Linked DNA regions of Homo sapiens: regions 1, 3 and 4 are each linked to region 2. Evidence: promoter capture Hi-C in 16 types of primary human blood cells and fetal thymus (Javierre and others, 2016). All regions are on one chromosome and are shown on one strand. The core of a region is centred on a gene start or on the middle of the fragment in contact, and the rest is flanking DNA. Distances in the headings are between cores, read along the strand shown. Region 1 holds the start of HSPA13 (heat shock protein family A (Hsp70) member 13). Region 2 holds the start of ASMER1 (adipocyte associated metabolic related lncRNA 1). Region 3 has its middle 240 kb from the start of USP25. Region 4 overlaps LOC105369302 (a long non-coding RNA gene).

What was found. The method cuts DNA at HindIII sites, captures the fragments that hold promoters and counts their contacts. A CHiCAGO score of 5 or more calls a contact.
Region 1: the fragment with the promoter of HSPA13 here is called in contact with the fragment with the promoter of ASMER1 in region 2 in 2 of 17 cell types (M2 macrophages and M0 macrophages); the score reaches 7.6 in M2 macrophages.
Region 3: a fragment that was not itself captured here is called in contact with the fragment with the promoter of ASMER1 in region 2 in 2 of 17 cell types (M1 macrophages and naive B cells); the score reaches 6.8 in M1 macrophages.
Region 4: a fragment that was not itself captured here is called in contact with the fragment with the promoter of ASMER1 in region 2 in 2 of 17 cell types (M2 macrophages and M1 macrophages); the score reaches 5.3 in M2 macrophages.

What each region holds. Positions count from the first base shown.
Region 1 is chr21:14,381,768-14,384,467 of GRCh38, forward strand. HSPA13 (heat shock protein family A (Hsp70) member 13) reads right to left here and starts at 1,379. Exons shown (of 5, transcript NM_006948.5): 1 at 1,328-1,379. The coding sequence starts at 1,352. It overlaps LOC105369304 (a long non-coding RNA gene), which reads left to right and starts at 999. Exons shown (of 2, transcript XR_007067924.1): 1 at 999-2,700. RefSeq lists enhancers at 1,086-1,395, 1,786-1,915. The HindIII fragment of the contact is 7,322 bases long and covers 476-2,700 here.
Region 2 is chr21:14,917,231-14,919,930 of GRCh38, forward strand. It overlaps ASMER1 (adipocyte associated metabolic related lncRNA 1), which reads right to left and starts at 1,438. Exons shown (of 4, transcript NR_146322.1): 1 at 941-1,438. The HindIII fragment of the contact is 3,530 bases long and covers 1-2,700 here.
Region 3 is chr21:15,488,273-15,490,972 of GRCh38, forward strand. It overlaps the pseudogene CYCSP42. Among named protein-coding and RNA genes, the nearest start is that of USP25, 240 kb to the right of the region's middle. RefSeq lists a silencer at 139-347. The HindIII fragment of the contact is 2,498 bases long and covers 50-2,547 here.
Region 4 is chr21:15,526,256-15,528,955 of GRCh38, forward strand. LOC105369302 (a long non-coding RNA gene) reads right to left here. Exons shown (of 3, transcript XR_001754972.2): 3 at 1-468. Among named protein-coding and RNA genes, the nearest start is that of USP25, 200 kb to the right of the region's middle. The HindIII fragment of the contact is 2,612 bases long and covers 8-2,619 here.

The DNA.
Region 1 (2,700 bases), core at 129-2,628, 540 kb before region 2:
AACCCTATAACTGTATGTTTGTGTCATTCTCTAATAAATGTAATAAAATGTAAAAATATTTCAATAATATTTGTGCAGATGCTGACAAGAAACAACATTTATCTGGAGCAAAAGCCAGATATAATCTAATATTCTTGATCAATTGATATTTAGATTTTACAGCTTTATAAAAAGCTTCGATTATCTTTTTTTAAAAGCTCCATTATTAAAATTCTCACAAGAAAAACTTTATTATTTTATAAGTCTAAAATTCTCTCCTCGTATCTCACCTCCTTTTCCCTTTCAAAAGGATGAAATGAATAAATGGGATAAAATGATTTTGAAAGTTCCTTAGATATGAAACTGTCACTTCAAAACAGAACACAGTTAACTTTTTATGTATTTAAGTATGAACTAGGGACTTCCTTCTTGCAGTGGTAATATTTAGGGGAGAAGAAGCATAAAGGTGGGCAACCCTGACGGCAACATCTATGAAAGCTTCTTGAAGACAAGTTTCGTTCACTGTTGTATCCCCCAGACCAGGAATAGCAGATGCCCAACAAATACTAATTTAAAAAAAAAAGAAAAAAGAGTAGGAACAAATGCCACGCAGATTGTAAACATAAGCGAAGAAAGATGCCCCTTTAGTTTTTAATGAATCTCGTATTTGGTATCAGGAGGCTGTGTTATACACCTGTGTCCGCTCATATTACATATGACCCAAAACATGAATTTTCAGGGCTCTGTGTTACTAATTGTTAGCTCATCCTCATCAACACATAACTCAAAGAAATAAAACCAAGTGCGAATCCCACTTTCCACTTCCAGCTACAGGCAACATTTCAGAAGCATTTCATCACCTTGGAGACGCGGGGTGGGTGTGTGTGTGGGTGGGGGATAGGTAATTCCAAACCCGATGTGATGGAAAAAGCCTCCAAATTCAGCATCCCTGAGCCGACAGATCCGGATGTAGCTCCTCCCCCTTCCTCCACAAAGGGGTCCTGGAGGTGCACGTTCTCGCAGCCTTCCATAGCTTGCCCCAATTCAACAGGCAATTCAAAAACCTAGGTGCTGTTGAAAGGAACGCCTCCCTAAGCCTGATGTCCCTGGGATGGACACAGCTGGTCGCCGTCTATCCTACCTTGGCCTGCAGGGGCCGGGGCCCTCCTAGAGGCGTCCCCGCCCCCATCCACTCCGAACAGCCGAAAACCGTCTCTAAGTCACCTTTCTGACTCCCCTTCCGCTGCTCCAGCTAGATCCAGGAGGTGAGTCAACCACCCCTGCCCACTCTGGCATCCTCAGATCGCCTCTACGCCCGCAAGAGCAACAAGGACCCCCGGGAACCCACCTAAGATCGTCATCTCTCTGGCCATCACAGTCCCGCCGAACAGGCTTGTGATGACTGTACCAGACGTGAGGCACCGCCCCCACTCCTCCCGGCAGTCCCGCAGCCCCCTGGGAAATGTAGTCCGCTTGCTCTGAGGCAATCGGAGAAGCTATCGCTCTGACCAAAGCAAGGACTTCATCTACCGTGAGGGCGCGGGGCAAAGAGCCTCCATTCAACCGCTGCCAGTGACGACTGAGTCCCCCTTCCACGCAACGGCCGGCAGGACCAGTGAGACTGAGGGGGAGGAGCGCCGTGGCGAGAGACTGGCGTTTATAATCAAACCTGTGGTCCCGCGATCCTACTTGAGGGAAAACAGGCTATCTCTTTAGCCCCGCCCCGCGCTTTGCATTCTGGGAAGCGGAGTTCCAGCCTTTCTCTTTCCGCGGGAGGGAATGAAAGGGAGGGTGAGAACCGTTAGTTATTTCTTTCTTTGGTCGTGCCCCTAATCAGGTCCAGGATTCGAGTTTGTGTTCTTTCGTTTTAATTCCTTTTAAAGCGCGTTCGTTTGCCTGAGATCTAGCTTCTAGATGGCGTTCCTATAGCCTCCCGGAGCCCCAGCCATCCTCCGTAGAAGGGTCCCTGCCGCAGTGCGGGGCCTGAGGGAAGTCGGCTCTGGCGTCCGTGCTCCAACGCTGGGAGCAGCCCTGAAACTCCAGTGACCCTCAGCCGTCTGCCTTTGTTTTGGGATAAATGAATTCAAGCATTCTTCAGTCAATTCGATTTATCCAAGGGATCAGGGACACATTTTCTCTATTGCTAGCACTGACGTGGGCCATTAAAAACAAAAACAAAAACGAAATTAAAAAGAAAACCCTTAGCTCTCTCTTCAAGTAAGTCTTAAGTGGCCAAAATTGACCTTATGGGCAAGTCCTGTAACGTGACAGCCATTTTAGGACGCTTGTGACATGCTGTTCAGGTTCTAGTCTGAAGTAGGATTTTTCTCGCATCTTGGTCACTGGTAGCACTTAATGACTCCTCTGAGAGTGGTTTTGTCATTTTTGCTGTTAGAGTTCACGATAACTAAGATCCTGGAGAATTGAATCCATTTTCTCAGCTTAGATATAAATCAAACCATCCCTGTTGACAACACGTCAGCCTGCTGTGGGAATACATTGCTGGTTATTTCTGACTTATCAATGTGAATTTTGATTATGGAAGCTGAATTCTGGTTGATAGGGATCCATTGTAATGTTCTCTCTACTTTTGCGCATTTTTAAGTATTTCATAATGCGAAATATAAAAAGTGTGTGTCTATAGTGAGTGCTGTTCAATAAGATTCTTATAAGGAGTGAAGAATTCAAGCACTTAGTTCTTAAGTATTACTTGTAATGGGC
Region 2 (2,700 bases), core at 188-2,687:
AATACTTCTTTTCCAAATAATATTTATTTTCATGTGGCATTAATCTTTTTTTACTAATTATTCTTGGGTGCAGCATATTTTGTAACCACCTAAGCACACACTGATCCAAAGCTGAATATTATAAATAGTTATAATCACATTCATCAAAAAGTTCAAAGTGAGAGTGGGCTAAAAAATAAGTAGGAGTCAGAAAGAGAGAGTAGGAGATTGGGTAAAATGATAAAATAATGAGAAAAAGAAATAATTTCTATGTATCAGGTAGGAGAGAGAAGCTATTTCCTAGGGCTTTGGGGGAAATGAATTTCCCACACCAAAGGTGGAGTAGATTGAAAAACCGATAGATTGCTCTTCACTCCTTCACTGAGGTTCTGAAACTGTAGGCATTGAATGCTGCATTAAAGATACATGTGCATCTTATTCCTCATAAGTAAATTACATTGTTTTATTACTATGCTGTGTGGCCCAAAAGGCAAGCAATAATTTTTAGTGGCTGAGAAGAAACTAGTTTCACAAACAAGGGGCACTTTGAAAAAACAAATGTACTCAAAAAGACAATGTTGCTCTGGGCTTTATTTAGAATTAAATTCCAGAACTCACTCAAAACTGCAGAACCAGTACTCAAATTTGGTACCCCTTTTGCTCATCCTTCCTAAAGTCACCCTTCACACACAAATCTTTCCACCCTCCTCTCCAGGCATTTTAAATAGCTGCAGGATTAGAAATTGCAAAACAGATGCCTCCGGCCAAAAGCACCAAGTTTTGCTGATAAATTTTCCTGAAATCACACAAATGGAAAAAACGGAAGTCAGAAGTGTACATTTTATATTCAGCAGCTAAAGTCTGAAATCTCAGGTTATAAGTAAATTATTTTGTGATTAAATCCTAATCTCATCAATTTAAAGAACCAAAAACCCAGCTCAATAATCCACCACAATCTTACCTTGAAAATGTGGTTCTCTTATTTGAATGTCTTCTTCCAGTACTAATTCGATTTCTTTTCCTGAAAATTCTGCCACATGGTGCTACTTTCGGACATTTAATATATTTCATTTATAATTACTCTCACGTGTAAATGGTATCTTTAAATAATATGTGCAGGAGTTCTTAATAAGTTTTCACAACTCTCCTTATAAAGCAAAGCTATTCATTTTTAGAGAGTTTGAACGTTTTGGTGTTAATTTGATAAATAACAGCTATTGGACAACTGAAGAGAATAACCACTCACAGGCAATCTTCTCTTTGTACTTGATTTTAAAATATTAATATTTCATTCATGGTGTCTTCTCAAATTAAATTTCTCAGGGTTACTGGACCTCAGATACTAAAAGGACAAAGAAAAGGGACAGATGAGAACAGCTACGAAGCGATAGTGAAAACATATGGTGTCCATCTTGTAAGCATAAGGCTCCCTGGTATTGCTGCCACTCTCCCTGTGCTCGGGAAAGCTGGAAGAAGCCAGTAGGCAATCTGGTGTCTCGTCAGAAGAGTGCCAGAAACAGGTGTTGCTGACCTAACCCTTTCCTCCTACCACAGATTCTCTTGGTAAATCCTACACTCGTTACCATAGCATTGCTTTCAAACACACTTATCAGATGAAAACCAAGTGTTCCAAAATAACAGTTTATATGGAGTCAAAATGCTGAAAATTGCTGTGATTGGTTTTTTCTTTCTCTTTTTTTTTTTCAGTTTTTAGAATCGGGTAATTTTAAAATTACAATAAAATGCACACATTTTAAGTGTTCCCTGCGTGAGTGTTGATGGTTGTATACACCGATGTAGCACCACCCAAAACAAGATACAAAACGTTTCAATCACTCCAGAAGTTTTCCTCCTTCTCCTTTTCAGTCAAACCACACTGTACTGATTTCCATTGCCATAGACAATTTTGCCTGTCTTTGAACATAATATACTGTATATATTCTTTACATCTGGCTTTTTTTTGCCAATATATATTTTTAAGACTCATTCTTACTGTTGCATGTTATCACTAGCTCATTCCTTTTCATTACAGAGTAATATTTAACTGTATAAATATACCACAATTTGCTTACTCATTTTCTAGGAAATGGATATTTAAGTGTTTCCAGATGTTCTTGGAACAGTCTCATATAAGACTTTGTGTAGACGTATGTGATCATATCACCTGGATAAATACCTAGGAGTGGAATTCCTGAGACACAATATGTTTAACTTTTAAGAATGTGGCAAACCTTTCCCCACAATCGTTGTAATATTTTACTCTACTGACTTGTTAGTATTTATCTTTCTCCATATCCTCATCAATATTTGGTGCTGTCAGTCTTAGCCATTCCAGTGAGTGTGAAATGCTAACTCATTATGATTCTAAATTGCATCTCTCTGACGACTTATGATGTTGAATAGCTTTTCAGGTGTTCATTAGCCTCATCCTATGTAGGACATCTTATTCCCAAATTTTCTTTTGCTAAGTGTCTTTCCAGACTTTGGCCCATTTTTTACTGAGCTGTTTATCTTTTTATTGTTGACTCGTAAAAGTTATTTATATATTCTGGATATGACCTATTCATGAAAAATAAGTGATGAGAATTTTCAAAGTCTGTCGATTGCCTGTTCACTTTCTTTTAATGAGCAGAAATTAAATTTTATTGAAAATCAAATATTCTTTGACAGGTGAAATGTTTTTAATTCTAATACATTTTTGCATACCCCAGGGTTACAAAG
Region 3 (2,700 bases), core at 49-2,548, 570 kb after region 2:
GTACTACTCTTTTCCCAAAGCTTACAAATAATTCAATGAAGGCATAAAAAGCTTAAATAACCTATAAACAATCATACTACTCCAAAGGAATGAAGCTGAGATTTAAGCCTAGATATATTATCTATTGCTGCATAACAGATTCTTCCAAAACTTAGTGGCTTAACACAATAGCATTTACTATTTCACAATTCCTTGTAGCTTCTCTGGGTCCTCTGGCTCTGAGTTGCTTACTAGGAGAAAATCACAGACACCCCAGTGCTCTATTGAGAGTGGATCCGCTTCCAAGCCCATATAGTTGTTGGCAGGATTCTGTTCCTCGCTGGCTATTGGAGTGAAGGCCTCAATTCCTTGCAGGCTGTTGCCTGGAGGCTGCCCTTGTGCGCTCTCCATGGGGTGGCTCAGAACATGGCAGCTGGCTTCCAGAATGAGCCAACAAGACAGCCCCAGAATGTGAGCAAAATAGAAGTCACTGACTTTTACAACCTCATCTTGAAGTGGCATCGCTTAGAAGCAAGTTATTAACTCCAACTCACACTCAGTGGGAAGAAATCAAACAAAGATGTGAATATCAGGAAACAGAGCTCATTGGAAGCCATCTTAGGAACTACCACACCAAGAATGTTTTTTTGTTTTTTAAAAATTAAAAAAAAATTAACTAAAGCCTTATGATGACATCACTTACAAGTCTGTGCTGATGGTATATCTCTACATTCTAATGAGTTTGTAAAACCCTCATTACTAATCATGTATATATGGCATTTCTACAATTTTATTTGTTTTTTAACAACTACGTAAGCATAAGCCTGAATTACAACATAGTGTAATAGTAAACAATTCAAAAGTGAATTCTAACTTGCTACTACTTCTTGTCATTTTGACCTTTAAAAGCATCAGATCTTGTAGATTATCTATAAAATGTAAAAAGTGTTAAATATTTTTTGATATTATATATAAACTATGTAAAAAACAACAATTTAGATGCAAGAAATTTTTGTGAAATTGACATAGAACATACCAAATAAAATAAAAAAATAAAATAAAATAAAATAAAATGGGCATGGCAATCAAATCTTCACCCTCTGCATTTAGATGGACTGGTAAACACAAATTCAAATACAGTTGAGTCTTACTCTACTTTATAAGATAGTGAAGGAATTTCACTATCATATTAAAGTATATTCATATAACCAGTTATATAAATCTAAATAGAAAACCAATCTTCTCTAGTTATGAGATGGCAATCAGCAGGTTTGTGAAAAGTTGGACCTAACTAATCCAGGTTAGCCTCAATTCCAATTATGCCTTTAGAAGAGGAAATTGTGATAATATTTGCTGGACCTGAATTACTATCAAAATTCAAAAAGTATGATCACATTCATTTAACGACCAGCCAATTTTATTTAAATCAGGACTGTTCAACAAGAATATTCTATCAGCCATTAATGATCTGAATTCTGGTTTATCAGATTAATTGAAATATAGCACCTGCTTTTAAACAGTTATCAGGCATTTGTCTTTTGTAATAAGTAAAGCAGTGGCTTACTATTATTCATTAGTCGGTTTTTTTGTTTGTTTGTTTGTTTTGAGATCTGCTATCAAGTTTGCACTCTCTCCCTTATAAGTTCAAGCTGAAAAGTTCTGTAGTCCCCATGACCATCCTCACTTCTGATACCAACTGCAAATTCAGGAAACTCCAAGATTATGCATGTACTTGCTAGTTTGATAGAGGTATTCACAGAAACTCAGAAAAGTCATTATATTCACTTATATTCACAGTTGTACGTTATGACAGCAAAAGAATACAGATTAAAATTAATAGAAGGAAGAGTCACATAAGGCAGATCTGGGAGACAACAAAACATGCAACTTGTAGTTGTCCTCGCCCAGTGAAGTGGTGCAGACTGTGCCTATTTCTCCCAGAAAGGATGAGTGACAGTACACATGGAGTCTCACCAACTAGAGATGCTCACCTAAGTTTTAGTGTCCTGAGTTTTATGGGGGATTGGTCACATTGACATGACTTACCACACGGCTGATCATAGTCTCCAGTCCCTCCAGAGGTCAAAACGATAACATGTTGCCCAAGAATAAATAACATGTTGTTCCATTGTTAGCACAGACAATCTGGTGTGGCCCAAGGCCTCCCGGAAAACAAAGAAACTCATATAGGGCAAGGACATTCCAAGGTCTTAGAGATTTACCTCCCAGGAGCCCAGGGAAAAGGCCAAATCTTTCTTTGGACAAAATTAATTCTTTACTGCACACCAGCGAAGATCATTTTTGTTCCAAGGATGTGTCTTTTTGGACACATCAAATATTCTATCAGTGTTCTCAGGCACTACCTTTGTTCTTGTTGGCATCTGTGTAAGAGAATCCAGGGCCTGAACCATTGTCCACTCAAACAGACCATACACACCTGGTCCAGTTTTGTGCATGCCTCCCTTTTCCACAGTGTGCCACTTGCTATAGTTCTGAACAAAAACTCCCTTGCCCTTCGGAGCTTTATTTATTTTTAATTTGCTCTGTCATTGCATTGCATGCAATAGAAGCTTCCTGGTGGAAGCTCAATGTTCTGCTCAGTCCCAGACACGTTTTCAGCCACTGTATCATTGCCTTAGGTTGTGGTTTCCCCAAAGCAGCACCGGAGGTAAGGGCTTGTGTGCAGGAGTTCACTTGGGAGGTGGCTCTAGGAAATAGAAG
Region 4 (2,700 bases), core at 64-2,563, 610 kb after region 2:
CATTTCAAGCTTCATCAAACGTTACCTATTTTGTGTATCATGTCCTCAAGTCACCAGTCAATATAATATCTACCTCCTACTTTAATATGTATGTGGATACATATATTACTCCATGTAACATCTGGGGAAAAGAGGTTTAAAACCACAACTCTTACCATGACAATTCACTGTCATGGTAAGAATGCCAGGCAGGCTAGTGTATAAGGTACTAATAACTAGTACCTTTCTGAGCCCTTGTCTTACTTCTCAAATTAACCAACGTAATGAGCTTTCTACTCTTCCAAAAAGTAAGATCTACTTTGAAGTGTGGATATTCAAGAACCATGTTCCCAACCAACATCCAAAGCCAAAGCAATAAGCATGTTGTCAATTTCGACTCTTTCTGTGAAGACTCTATCAAACATAGATTCTTGGATCTACCAAAATATATCTCCTTTTCCGTGATCTTGTTTTCACTTTAACTGCTCGCTGCAAAAAAAAGAAAAAAAAAATCTTAGCTACATTACTTTTAACCATAATAGTTGCTTTCTGATCCTTACAAATAATATTTGGGTATAAACACCATCAACAAACTTCTCTTTTCCAGTTTCTGGCCCAGGATACAGAAAGCCTTTATCATTTCAGGCTCTTGCAAGCATTTTGCAATCACTTTATGTCCCAGGCAATAAATATTAATTCCAGTAAGTGTTTACTTAAATAAGTTTGTGGCCACTTGCAGAACCCATTATGTAACACTCCCTACAACTCTCTGCCTGCCAAAATATCACACTTTGAACAAGGCTTTTGGTTCAATCAGTGTATCAGCCCAATACATCGCTGCTTCTAGCCTCAACATCCTTCCCTTCTTTCCAGAGGAAGAAGGTGGTAAAGTCGTTTCCTTCCATTGCTGTGAATCAAAAGACATTTGACCATTTGACAAGGGCAACAGAATGCTGCCTGCCTGCTGTCTATCCAAAAACAAGGAGGAATTTTGCAGGAGTGTTGCAAAATAAAATTCTTCATTCAGAAAGATTTTTATTCAGATAAAAAAATTGGTTAACGAATGCAGCTTTAATTGCTTCTAGAGTTTGAAAGGGATTGTTTTTATAATATGCTATTACTTTCACCCAATTCATATTATAAACCATTCCAAGGCTTTAAACAAAAACTAAAGGGAACATATCTGTAAAAGTAACAACTAGCCTTGAATATAAACTTGGAATTAAATAAAATTATGTTATATGCTACAAATTAATCAAAAATTAAATATTTATATCATCATTATTTAACTTATTCACTTCTTGATTAATTCATCAATTCACATGTTTTAGAACCACAATTTATGCTTATGTCACTTCATTATAAAAAGAAGGCTACATAGAACAAATAATTAGAAAAAGTTTCTATTCTTCATACACATACAAGAGCTTGCATGATACACTGAATACTCTAGATAAAGTTATGCCTTTCCCATTAATAGATGTAAAGATGCAGGGATGAAGAGGAAACTGAAAGTTCCTAAAAATTAGTCCTTATATCTCATATGCCTGGAAATGTAACCCAACATTCTATCAAAAGAGATTTGTAGTGGATTCATATTAGAGAGAGACACTGAAAGCCAAGCACTTAAAACAAATTTAATTTGCCAAAATTTCAAAGTGGAAAAATTTCAGAAGCCTTCTGACACTTACCAGTGCCATAGGAATTATGCATTTACTGGCATCATGCATTTGTAGTCTGAAGAAATACAGTAATACTACATGGATTTCTGATATATTAAAATGTCTTCTTTCCTAGGGTGCTAAGGCAAGTGCACTCTATGTTGGTTGCCTGAGCTCGTAGCCTTATCACTCTTAAGTTTGTGTTTAGTAAGTATATTATTTTGAACTAGAAGTGAGGTTGGTTTTGTAGTTGTTAACGATTTGCTTTCTTGTGTACATTTGATCTCTCTAAAAAAGATACAAGTGTACTGAGGACTGGGATGGTATCTTTCATATCTTTTGCACAATCCAATTGCATTAGAACCATACAGTGCTCCCGGTGCCAGCATCACAGCTACTCATCAGGACTGAATTAGGAATCCAACCCATTAACTGGCTCGGTGACCCTGGACAATTCATTTTACCTTTTGAGACTCCTGGTGCTTCCCATATAAAATGAGGTGACTACATTCTTTCTAAGATACTTTCCAGTTATAAAACTCTATGATGCTTAATTAAGGAAGCAAGTAAAGGAAGGAAGTTATATGAATGTGTGGGGAACCGTGATACCCAAATTCACAGCATAGACTGCCAAAATCCTTGGCAAAACTATTGATGTGCTGGAAAACCAGAGGGGAGCATTATGAAAAAGCAGGCAGAGACCAGAGAGAAATCTGCTCCTTAGAGCTAGAGCAACGTGGATCCAAATTTGTGAGCTACATGCTTTTCTTTTTTTCTTTAACTGAATTTTCCAATTATGTGCAACCTGGGTGGTAAAAAGCCTGAAGTGTCCAAGTTTAAAGACAAACCTGACAGAACAGCTGAAAATTAGGAAAATTCATAGAAACATGAAAACAACAGAGAGAATGATCCTAATCATTGCCTAGTTCCTCATCTCTGCCCAAATTTAACAAGCATGGAGGAAATCAACAGGGGGAGAAGCTTTAAAAGCAACAGTAGGAAGACATTAGAATGGGCTGGAATGATAAACAGCTGTCTACCATGGGAAATGAGTAGCGGG